Regions from separate parts of the Homo sapiens genome. Here region 1 is linked to region 2. Evidence: promoter capture Hi-C in human tissues and cell types (Jung and others, 2019). All regions are on one chromosome and are shown on one strand. The core of a region is centred on a gene start or on the middle of the fragment in contact, and the rest is flanking DNA. Distances in the headings are between cores, read along the strand shown.

Region 1 (7,013 bases), core at 1,906-4,405, 98 kb after region 2:
ACTTTATTCTGTATCTAAAAATTCCTAAGCAAGTCATACAACAATATATAAAAATCAGTCATGTTTCTACATATTATTAGCAAGCAATCTGAAACTGAAATTAGAAAAATATTTTCATTAAAATTAGTATAAAAATGCAAAAAAATATTTAGAAATAAATTTAACAAAATAAGTCAAGACTCAATTATAAAAACCAAAACTACAAAGCATTGCTACAAGAAATTGGAGAAGGGCTAAACAAATGGATAGGTATACATGTTGACTTATTGGAAGACTTAACTAGTAGATATTTATCCAAGAGAACAGAGAGTTATGTTTAGACAAAAGTTTTAATCTAATATTTATAGCCACTTTATAAATAATAGCTGAATATTGCAAACAGTCCATATGTCAGGCAACAGGTGACTGAATAAACATAATGTACAAAATTCATACATTGGAATAGTACTCAACAATTTAAAAAAACTAGCAATACATGCAACAATGTGAATGATTCTCAAAACCTGTTGAGATTGAAAAAAATCAAGAAAAAACAAACATACATTGAACTACTTCAATCTTATGAAACTCTACAAAAGCAAATCTCATACATAGGAATATAGTGATGATTTGAAGCTTCTTGGGTTTGACAGTAGGATAGAAGGGTTTCTTGGCAGTAAATCAAGAGGTCTGGAGGATGATGGAAATGTTCTATATTTTGATTGTGCTAGTAATTGCCCTGGAGTCCACATTTGTCAAAACTCATTCAATTATATGCATTTTAAAATAATTAAAATTTATTGTATTATATTTGTCAACAGCTTTCACTTTAAAAAACATTTCTCTGAAATATGACATTTTAATATGGAGAGACCTAATGCATTCATTAATATAACTTCTGAATAATATTTTTCACAAAAAGACTTCTTACATGACAAAAAACCTAACATTGACAAATATAAGCTAAATAAGTTTGAAATAATGCTATTGAGTGTTTCCATGTGACAAATTCAATTGCATTCTCAGAAATACTCTAAATATCCTAACTAAGCCATTAGGTTCTTCTGAATGTACTTATTTGCTGTGGTTTCTTTTTGTATTTTGTTTTAAATTTTGGGTTGCTTGTTTTGTTTATTGTTTAAGTTCTTGTCAGCTGAATGCCTGCAAATATAGATGTTTATAAAGTATTTTCAGATTCTTTTTTCCTTAATCTACAATTTTCTAGGAGAAAATAATATTTATTTATTTATTCTTCATATACAGATTGGAAATAAATTATATTTTAAAAAAAGAATGCATCATAGGTACTTAGAATGTTTTAAGGTTTCTGAGATAATGGATCATCTCCTGTACTAACTCATCTTAGAATATCACCCAGTCCTCACCCCTACTATCTGCTCCATTAACCTTTAATTTAGGAAACTAATACATTTTAATTCAAGAAGATGAAATTTAATTGTTTTTAGTATAAAGAATAAAGGCCCATTCTTATGTAGCCACATATGTAAGAGAAACATGTGAAACATTGTCACCAAAATCCCTCATGATACAGTTTAAGCTGGAAAAAGCCACAATATTGACTCCATCAGGGGACACCTGCAGGACTGGAGGAATAAATCAGGAGAGGGGGACTGGGTTGATTTTAAGAAAGCCTTTTAAGAAATAGTAGTTTTAATTTTCTTTGATGATATTCTTGGAAAGGAAATCAAGGAATGGAATTGATTTGATATTTTTATGTTATTGCTTTTTTTTGCTGTTTTTTTTCTATTACTTGGACAACTAGGCCCAAGTAACGTGTTCTTAAAAGCATGAGAGAGTACCAAGAAAGCACCACTAGCAATTCTATTGAATTTTTTCAGAGATCATGCATTTGGTTTTCCCCCCACACTTGCCCCACATTTCCTTTTATTCATTGTAAACTTCAGGAAAGTAAATGCCTTAGGGGAGCCATTAAGTTCTTCAGTTTCCTAAATCCCTCAAGAAACAAAGAAGAATTTTCAATAATATATGTACTATATCCTTTTAATGAGAGGATTAACTCCAGGGACTTTATTCCCATTTTGTTAGGGAACCACAAACACAGAAAAGCCAGGGTGACACCACTTTAAAATCAGCTCCATCTTAAAACTAGCAATGCACATTCCTTCCCTGTCACTGCCCATGGTCATAAGATGATTACAGTTAAGGAAGCAGTTGAATAAAGCGTGTAAGGACAAACTCCTCTGATAAAAAAAAAGTCTAGATGCTTCAGTATTGTGTAACAACTTTGCTTTTAAGGTAATTATAGTTATGCTTTGATTTGCTTAGACACTAAAATGCCAAGGATAGTTTTCTTTAAATCAACAGAATGATAAATTTTGCTACGATGTCAGCTCACCTGCAGGTAGACATAGCTTAGCCTCATTTTTACACAGGTAAGATTTCAACATAAATAAAGCTTAAAGATGAGACGTTCCTCTGCTTGCTTTCTGAGGACACCATGATCTGTATTTGAGTAGCTTTCAATGAACTACCTCTTATCACACTCTGTGACTTGCCTTGAATTCCTTTGTGCATCAGATCCAGGAACCCTCTCTTGAGGTCTACATCTTGACTCCTTTCTCCTGCAACAATTTGAACTAAGACAAATACATAACTAAACTTTTTGTCTAAAATTATCTTCTAATACAATTGTGTTTTTCATTTTCATTTTATTTATTTATTTTTGAGAAGGGGTGTCACTCTGTCGCCCAGGCTGGAGTATAGTGGTGCAATCTCAGCTTGCTACAGCCTCGACCTCTTGGGCTCAGGCAAACCTCCCACTTCAGCCTCCTGAGTAGCTGGGACCACAGGTTTTTTGTGTGTTTTGGAGAGAAGGGGTTTTGCTATGTTGCCCAGGCTGGTTTTGAACTCTTTAGCTCAAGAAATCCAACTACCTCCACCTACCAAAGTGCTAGGATTACAGTATGCCTGGCCTGACAAGTTTATGTTTTGATTTTTTTTTTAATTTTACTTTAAGTTCTGAGATACAAGTGCAGAACATGTATGTAGGTTTGTTACATAAGTATACGGTGTGTCATGGTAGTTTGCTGCACCTACCAACCCGTCATCTAGGTTTTAAGGCCCACATGTATTAGCTATTTGTCCTAAGGCTTTCCCTTCCCCACACCTTGACAGGCCCTGGTGTGTGATGTTCCCCTCCATGTGCCATGTGTTCTCATTGTTCAACTCCTACTTATGAGTGAGAACGTGCGGTGTTTGGTTTCCTGTTCCTGTGTTAGTTTGCTGAAGATGATGGTTTCTAGCTTCATCCATGTCCCTACAAAGGACATGATCTCATTCCTTTGTATGGCTGCATAGTATTCTATGGTGTAAATGTACCACATTTTCTTTATCCAGTCTGTCATTGATGGGCGTTAGAGTTGATTCCATGTCTTTGTTATTTTAAATAGTGCTGTAATAAACATATGTGTGTTTTGATCATCTTCCTCTTACTTTCATGCCAAGGAAGTTGTACCTATGATTCTCATATTGTAAAGAATAAGTTTGAATATCAGTGCTGCTACCTGTAACTATTACAATATCATTTACTTAATTTATGCATCACTATAAATTTAAGACAAATTTAACTAATTATTGTCCGTGCTTTGTCTTTGTGTTTGTCTTAGGCAGACTACAGAGAGATAAACCATGGGAAGAGGTGGTTATGGAGGTTTCTAAATGAGCTGAGGTATTGAACATTTTTTCTTCTATTGGTAAGTTAAACTCACTTATTTGAATAACATATGTGTTCTACAAATTAGTTAAAACATTTTAAAATGAAGAAAAGAGAACGGTTCATATATCTATACTTTTAAAAGTATTAAAAAGTATAAGTATTTTATACTTGAAAAAGTATATTTTTATCTGATAAACACTTCAAATTACAGGGACAGGAGGAACTTGTAACCTGGCTATCTGTTCTCACCCTCATACTACACTTCAATCTATTTTTCTACATTAGCTTCAAAATAGTTGTGTAACTTTCATTGGAATAATGAAAAATATCAGGGTTTTAATTCAGTGGAACAGTCTTTCATAAAGAGGAATTGTAATCTAAGTCATAACTACATATTCCCATGGGGATTATTCACCTATCCCTGTAGATGCTCCAGATCTCAAAGTTCTCTGCTTGTTTGTCATTATTTCAGTAGTCTTCTTCTTTTCCTGAGTTTTACATACTCTGCAAGAATTGTATCTCTCAAGTAAAAAGATAACGAAGTGACCAAACATATTATTTTTATTCTGGAGAAGTAAAGCTGCCAGTATCCCAATTTGTTTGAAGTATTTATTTATATCCTCACCTGGTTCAAAGAGGCCCAGAGCCAATGTACTCCATCCCACCCTTTTGGAAGATTCACCTCTGTCCATGGTGTCCTCACACACTCCCTTTACAGAAGGAGGATGATGAAGGCTGCTAGGTTGACCCTGATCACCATCGTAGATAGACCCAGTGCTGAATCCAGCCCTGTCAAGGAGACCGGTGCCTTGTGCTCTTCACTCCTTCCCAGTTCTACTGTTTATGCTTCTTAAACAAACAGGACTTTGTTATGAGCAGAAAGGTAAATCGGTGTTCTGAGTTACTGGAACCCAGGTCAGGAAATTAAGACACCCTTTTTCGAAGCATGCCAAAGACTGAATGAGAGAAAGTACAGTACAGTATCATGGCTATGTAAGGAAGCCAGTCATCTATAAATTTCGCTTATCTAGTAGGACACTGTTGACTTAATGTTTAAAATATGGTTTAGAGTAACTAGGAATTGGCTTCTTTCTCATTTGATTCCAAAAAATGGTACATGGTACTCCAATTAAGAGTCTGGACAAAGCCTGCTAAAAGCACAATAATCTAGGCCTAGAAGATGGTACCAATTTATATACATTTGTATTTTTGTAAATAAAAGTTAATTTTTCAGGCAAAATGTGGTAATAATTGACAGATATGCATTGGTTATTTGAAAAAGACATTGCATATTCTAAGAATTGCGTTGCAATATGAAAAGAAAGCATTGCAAATGTATCTGTACGTTGTATAGGTTTACTTTATTTTATGGATTTGCTTTGCTTTTTCTCAGGAAAAAGTATGAGAACTTATTTTTCTTGAGTCTCAGTAAAGTATTTCTATTGGATATCAAAGACCAATTATAACTTGCTGTTGCCATATTTCACATTTCAGTTTAGAGTGCCTTCTCCTCTCATTCCCAGTAAGCACTCTTCTGAGAAGCCAGGGCCTCTGGTTACTTTCAAAGGATGACTCCCGAACCTTCGGTCCTTAGCTTTTGTCATATCTAACTTTAAAACTGTGGAGTAGGAACTAAGCATGAAGACGTTAGTCGAATATTTCAGGTTTAAATGCCATAGTACAGTTACTCTTATATCTCGATACATTTGACATTAGCAACTATTAAATTTGAAATTAGAAGTGTAAAAATGGGCTTCTATGGGACATACATTCTATTTCCAAATTTAGTTCTTATGCTTTTGTGAACTGGGCTTTTCTTCTGTCTTTTGTTTTCAATTTTTATTTCATGTTCAGTGGTACATATGCAGGTTAATTATATAGATATATTGTGTGTCGTGGGGGTTTGGTGAACAGATAATTTTATCACCCAGGTAATAAGAATAGTACTCAGTAGGTACTTTCTTGATCCTCACCTTCCTCCCACCTTCCACCCTCAAGTAGGCACCAGTATCTGTTGTTCCCTTCTTTGGGTCCATATGTACTCAATGTTTAGCTTCCCTTTATAAGTGAGAACATGCAGTATTTGCTTTTCTGTTCCTGTGTTAGTTTGCTTAGGATAATGGCTTCCAGCTCCATCCATGTTGCTGCAAAGGACATGATCTCATTACTTTTTATGGCTGCATAGTATTCAATGGTGTAAATGTACCACATCTTTATCCAGTCCACCATTGATAGGCATTTAGGTTGATTCCATGTTTTTGCTACGTGAATACTACCTCAATGAACAGACACATGCATGTGTCCTTATGATAGAATGATCTATATTCCTTTGGATATATACCCAATAATGGGATTGCTGGGTCAAATGTTAATTCTGTTTTAGGTTTTTTTCTTTTCTTTATATAGATGTAAAATACAGTTTACTTTAGATTTTTGTTCCCATTAAGACCAGAATTTTAAATGCAGCCTTAAGCTAAGACCCTAATATTTTTGGTTTTTTTTTTTTTTTTCGATTTTTTTTCACTCATGGAATTTTTTATGGAATAAGTAAATAAACTGTGTTTGAATAAAGTGTTGAAATTTTCTGATTTTATAGGTAAGACAATCAGAGAAGTCACTAACTCATATCACATGGCTAGGTAGGAATTCCAAATGGTCTTGATATTGCGGTATCATTACTCTGAATTAATTCCAATCTCCATATCATTAACAGGCATCAAGAAACACAAATCCATGGCTGATGTTAATTTTACATTGGTTACTGAGTTTATCCTTTTGGAACTGACAGATCGTGCTGAACTGAAGATGGTCCTCTTCGTGTTGTTCCTGCTGATCTACACCATTTCCCTGGTGGGAAATATAGGAATGCTCTTTCTAATCTATGTAACTCCCAAACTCCACACACCCATGTATTATTTCCTCAGCTGTCTGTCATTTGTTGATGCCTGCTATTCATCAGTTTTTGCACCCAGAATGCTGCTGAACTTCTTTGTTGAGCGGGAGACAATCTTATTCTCTGCATGTATTGTGCAGTATTTTTTATTCGTGTCTCTCCTTACCACTGAGGGCTTCTTGCTGGCCACAATGGCTTACGACCGTTACATGGCCATTGTGAACCCTTTACTTTATACAGTAGCTATGACTAAAATAGTTTGTATTGTGCTCGCATTTGGGTCATGTATGGGAGGTTTAATCAACTCATTGACACATACAATTGGCTTGGTGAAACTGTCTTTCTGTGGGCCAAATGTCATCAGTCACTTCTTCTGTGATCTTCCCCCACTGTTGAAGCTGTCATGTTCTGAGACATCTATGAATGAATTGTTGCTTTTGATCT
Region 2 (6,218 bases), core at 1,131-3,630:
AATAACTTAGCTAGTAATTTTCTCAATGCCACCATGATATCTTTGTTCCTCAGGGTATATATAATAGGATTCAAAGTTGGAATCAGAATGGTGTAGAAAAGAGAAATCAGTTTCCCCATCCTTTGAAACTGATGTGGTTTGGGCTGTAAATAAGTGATAGTACCTGCTCCAAAGAATAAGATTACAACTATTAGGTGAGATGAGCAGGTGGAGAAGGCTTTAGCCTTTCCTCTGGCTGATGACAATTTCAAAATGTTGGAGATAATTTTGCCATAAGAGACAACAATCAACAGAAATGGCACCGTGATAAACACCACCGCTACTACATGGACTGTTATCTCATTCACAAATATGTTTCCACAAGCAAGCTTGAGTATTGGCGGGATGTCACAAAAGAAATGATTAATTGTGTTAGTTCCGCAAAAGGGCAAAAGGAAAATTTGGCATGTTTCCCCAATTACTACAGGAATTGTGATGGTCCAGGAAGCTATTATCAGCTGAATGCAGACTTTGTGGTTCATCACTAGAGGATACTGCAAAGGCTTACAAATAGCCACGTAGCGGTCATAGGCCATCACTGTCAGAAGGAGACACTCCGTGCCTCCAAGCATAAGAAAAAAACACATTTGTGTAGCACAAGCAAACAAAGAAATATTTCCTTTCTGAGTCCAAATGTCCATGAGCATTCTTGGGATAATGATTGTTACATAACAGATTTCCAAAAGGGAAAAATTGCTAAGAAAAAAATACATGGGAGTCTGGAGAGCGGGGTGAATTTTTATTAGTAGTATTATGATGCCATTGCACATCAGGATCATCAAATACATAAGTAAAAATATACTAAAAAGCATCCAGTGGAGATTGGGAATATCAGAAAACCCCAAAAGAACAAATTCCATTATTGTAGTCACATTTGATTTTTCTCTTTTAGTTTGCTCTCCATCTGCAGATATAGCAAATTCAAGACAGTTAATTCATCCATATTTTGAACAATATTTTCCTCTTGGGTTAACTAAATGAGATACAGGAATATACTTACTTAAGCTCTTAAGTCATTTTCACCAGTACTTGCTCTGTTTCTAGATAATAAACTGATTTAGCATTAAAATCAATTTAAGAAATGAAACCTCAATATATTTTATTATACTGGGATATAATGCAACCAGAGGCATTGAGAAGCATGCATTGTTGTTTAGAAAATATTATGGAGGAATAACATCTTATTATTTCACACTTAAGAGTAGAGTTATAGTGTAGGCTTTTACTATTTCATCTGAGAATATCATTTTTCTTTGTATTGGTAGTCATATTCCAGTTTTTTTAATTCAAAATGTTGCCCTTGAATATTACGATTAATTCATACTCAAAATGAATTTTAAACTTTTCCTTTTATGCACCAGTGAGAATCAATTATCTTAAACAATTTCTTGGTTACTGAGAGACTAAATACATGCATTATTGTTGCTCTACTTCATGTCTCTCTCCTATTATTTATGCTAAATATAAAAACACTAATACCAGTAGGCAGTTTATTGACTTCCCCTGTTATTGCCCTGAATACAGTGAATGCTAAATAGTAATTAAATTATAACTTAATCAAGATGTAGAAATTCATCACAATTTTTTTTACATTTCTTTTTTTTATCTAAGTGAATTTCTCCATTGTCATATAACCAAATACAGTTCCTTTCAACCAAATACAATTCCTTCTCTCTATTTTCCCTTCATCCTGTTGCCTTATTAAAGTAAAATTCTTTGATTAAACCCAGCTAACATTTACTCTGGCCATCTAAGTGGCCAGAGCATATAAATGGGACCAAAAAATTAAACAAAACAAAACAAAAACACACTGTCTTGCTTCACTTCATGTCAATGTCATCCAATATGAGGAAATCACTGCTTGTCAATTCCCATTACACTTGCTTAACGTTTGTTCTCCAACTTTCTAAACAAATTCTTTTTTTCTGTGTCTTCAAATCTGCTGCACCTATACCTATTTTAGCCCGGTCAGCCAATGCATTTGACTTAATACGTTGATAAATGAAAGTGATCAGACAAATACTATCTCATATTTATACATTTCTATTAGTACTAGTTTTCAAAATTGCCTTAAATGACTTTTCATCACTAATGCAATTTTACCATTATTGGACATCTAATTTTATTTAACTTTGTAGTGAAGAGATACATGATTTAAATGTTAAATAATTAATTTTCAGATAAAGGTCTCAAAATTTCATGCTTTTCTGTTTTATTAGTTGCATTTCTATCCACAAACTTGTAACTATTCTTAAATAAAATAGTCTGTCAACCCAATTATGGCTTACCTTTAGGGATTTGCATGAAGCTGTCTGTACAGACTTTTTAAGCTCTTCCTTTTCTCGGGAACTGTAATTTTGCAATACGCTTGCTTGTTTCAAACAGCAACAGCTCTTATATAGGAATAGTCAGACTCAACCTGGGATGTGTCTTCTCTTGAGTATCAGTTTAATTTCTAGAAGGCTGCTTCTGTTTGTCAATCATTCTGATTCATTTTTCAAAACTACTTTAAGTAAACTTATCCTCCTCTTCATCTCCTCATGAGGGGAGTTAATTAAATACCATTTAGTTGTCTAGTATTACTTTCAGGAAAAAGTTAAAAATTTTCCAACTGTGTATTTGAGGCCCCTAATACTTAGTGTGGATTTGTCTGCCTTACTTCTATTCCAATAATTTATCCAGATCCAAATTAACTAGACCTTTAAAAAATATATCATGTGTTTAATCACACGAACATGATATGCTTGATGTCTTCGACATATTGAACGGTGAGATTCTTTTTCAGATGTGGAACCCTCTGTTCCTAGGTTAACTTTTTTTGTGGATATTAAAACATGTTAATTCTGCTGAGAAAATCTATCTATACATTTATTTCATTCTGTGTTGTCTATAAGGCACCAGGGAAATGTATCCAGCTGATTGAAAATGTAATATACCACTCCAAGACGTCCCACTAGACGCAGTCAAGAGGAACATCGCCCACGAGGGACCAGGACATCAGGAAGATTGGTGCACTCCTAGCAAATCTTCAGAAGGAAAGGAATTCTGCATGGGGGTACCACACACAGGAAGCATTCCTGGCCCCCAGTGACTCCTGCAAAAGCATGAGTTGAATGGGCAAGGAGCAACCCTCTCTTTCCATGAGCCTCCGAATCCCAGCAGGAGAAAACCCCTGGACCACAAGTAACACTTGAACTGGCAGGGAGAGATGCTTAGACAAGTGGTAGGGGCAGAACTCCAGCCTGTGTGGAATCCAGAGGGTTTAGTGTGAAAGTGTCTGTAGTGGAGCATGGCCAGGGATGCCCATCCCCCCAGGCTTGACCTGCTCCCGTAGGAAGCTTTAGCCCTATGGGAACTATGGGACCTGAATTCTGCACGGCAGTCTCACCCACTACATGAGGCTATTCTAACTTCAGCACCACTCAGTTTGCTGGCCTCTCCTGGGTCCCAGCTTGGCCCCCAGCCAGGTACCTCCTGGGGGCCACATCATAGCTCCTGTGCTGGTGGACCCCCGGCTGACCAGCAGACTGATCCAGCAGAGTAGCCTGTGCAGACACAGGCCAGCCCACCAGCACCCTCCCTGCACTGCAGCCTCTCGGGCCACTTTGCCTGCACTCACTCACCCATAGCCACCCCCTATTTATGTCTCTCTCCTATTATTTATGCTAATTATAAAAACACTAATACCAGCATCCCTTTGCCAGTGAGTGTGTGTGCCAGAGGACATTGCCTTCCCTTCCCTGCCACTGTGAGTGTGCCCATACATCCTGTGTGCCACTGCTCCCGGAGTGAGTGCACCTTTGGCCCTGCTGCAGAGCCGTTGTCCTCGGAGCGTTTGTGGGCCCGTCCCTCCCTGAGCGGGTCTAATGGTCACTAACTAGTGATCATTAGAGAAATGCAAATCAAACTTTCCATCACTAACCAGTGATCATTAGAGAAATGCAAATCAAAACCACAATGAGATAGATACCATCTCACACCAGTCAAAATCACTATTATTAAAAAGTCAAAAAATAACAGATGCTGGTGAGGTTGCAGTGAAGAGGCAACACTTACAGTGTCTTGATGGGAGTGTAAATTAGTTCAACCATTGTGGAAAGCAGTGTGACGATTCCTGAAAGAGGTAAAAACAGAACTGCCATTCTACCCCATAATCACATTACTGGCTCTAGATCCAAAGGAATAGAAATCATTCCATTATAAAGATGCATGCACACATACATTCATTGCAGCACTATTCTCAATAGCATAGACATGGAATCAATCTATATGTCCATCAGTGGTAGACTAGATAAAGAAAATGTGGTACGTATACATCATGGAATCCTATGAAACCATTAAAAAAGAAGACTATGTCCTTTGCAGGAACATGGATGGAGCTGAGGGCCATTATCCTTAGCGAACTAACTCAAGAACAGAAAACCAAATACTGCATGCTCTCACTTAAAAGTGAGAGCTAAGTGATGGGAACACATGGACACATGGAGGGCCTACCTGAGGATGGAGAATGAAAGGAGGGAGAGGAGCAGAAAAAATAACTATTGGGTACTAGGCTTAATACCTGGGTGAGGGCCAGGCACTGTGGCTCAAGCCTGTAATCCCAGCACTTTGGGAGGCCGAGGAGGGCGGATGACCTGATGTCAGGAGTTCGAGACCAGCCTGACCAACATGGAGAAATCCCATCTCTACTAAAAATACAAAATTAGCCAGGTGTAGTGGTACATGCCTGTAATCTCAGCTGCTAGGGAGGGTGAGGCAGGAGAATCACTTGAACCTGGGAGGTGGAGGTTGCGGTGAGCCGAGATCGTGCCATTGCACTCCAGACTGGGCAACAAGAGTGAAACTCTGTCTCAAAAGAAAAACAAAAAATAATACCTGGGTGAAATCTGTACAACAAACCCCATGTGGAACAACCCTTCAAATGGACACCTGAACCTACAATAAAAAAAAAAAATTTAATGCAAGCCACTTCAAAAATAAACATTTTAAACTAGATTATTTAAAACAGAAGGAAAAGAAGAAACTTTTCAACATCCTTTCCCTATTGCAGCTACTTCCGGGTGTGTATGGTGATGTTTCTCAGGCATAAAATCAGGAGCACCAAATCTACTTCTATGTGGAGTTACATTTGTTTCTTCTTGTTTGGCGTTCTATGACCATTTGACAGTATGTTTCTAAAACCAACTTCCTCTATGCATGCTAAATCTGCTTCTCTATACCACAGCATGCCTCTCCTACATTGTTCCTCTGTACTCTTTATTATCACTGATTTGGTATGTCCAAAGAGGGCTTTCTTCATTTCCATCTACAATTGAAAATGGTACTCATGATTTTCCAGAAACTTTCCATTACCAGGTTGGGACAAGCTGAATGTCCATTTTCCACTGGAGTACACTGGTGTATTATGAAAAAGGAGAATTGGATAAATTGGGTATTTCATAATTCATTTAAATACCACAGTGACCTGAACAAGTCTAAAACCTGAAACATTACCACAGATATATCAACGCCTTATCAAAATAAAGAAGTATCTTACATTCATATCATAGTGCAATGTGGTGGTTAGTAATTAAAAAACTCTATTTCCTTCCATCTGATAGTCCTATTGTTCCCTAGGTCATCTTTGTAGTTCTCTATTGGACCACGAGCATTCAGAGAGCTGAGAACCAAGTATGGACAGAGCATAAGGAAAGAAACTCCCTCTAAAGAGTCTCAGCACATGATAGATGCGTCATTTCCACACATATGCTATTGTAGAAACTATTAACATGATCTAACTTAAATGTGAGAGGGCTAGGGGATGTTGTATTACTGTAGGTCAAAAAAACAAAACGATTTTTGGAGAACATCAAGGCAGATTCCACCCCAGGGTATTTCACTCTTTCTCCCAAATATAGAAGGTATTTCCCCAATGCCATAACGTTCAGCCCTAAAAATTTATGATCTATGATTATTACCCATTTCTCTATATTAGGTATGGGTGATCTCCTTCAGTTTAAGAGACCAATGAATAAAAAATGGAAATATTTCTTCCACTACACACTCAGTATACAGTGACATTGGAGTGGAACATGCTGATGCTTTTTTTTTTTTTTTTTTGGAGAGACAGCTGTCACTATTTCTCTGGGTAGAATCTTAAGGACACTTACCCTGCATACAAATAGATTCCTTTATTAATT

What was found. Contacts are between HindIII fragments. The study calls those that stand out against the background at their distance.
Region 1: a contact is called between a fragment that was not itself captured here and the fragment with the promoter of OR10AG1 in region 2, in 2 of the 25 tissues and cell types used here (adrenal gland and mesendoderm cells).

What each region holds. Positions count from the first base shown.
Region 1 is chr11:56,064,702-56,071,714 of GRCh38, forward strand. It overlaps the pseudogene OR5J1P. Among named protein-coding and RNA genes, the nearest start is that of OR8I2, 25 kb to the right of the region's middle. The HindIII fragment of the contact is 3,281 bases long and covers 1,516-4,796 here.
Region 2 is chr11:55,967,565-55,973,782 of GRCh38, forward strand. It overlaps OR10AG1 (olfactory receptor family 10 subfamily AG member 1), which reads right to left and starts at 2,381. Exons shown (of 2, transcript NM_001005491.2): 1 at 2,328-2,381; 2 at 1-943. The coding sequence starts at 2,343. The HindIII fragment of the contact is 11,099 bases long and covers 1-6,218 here.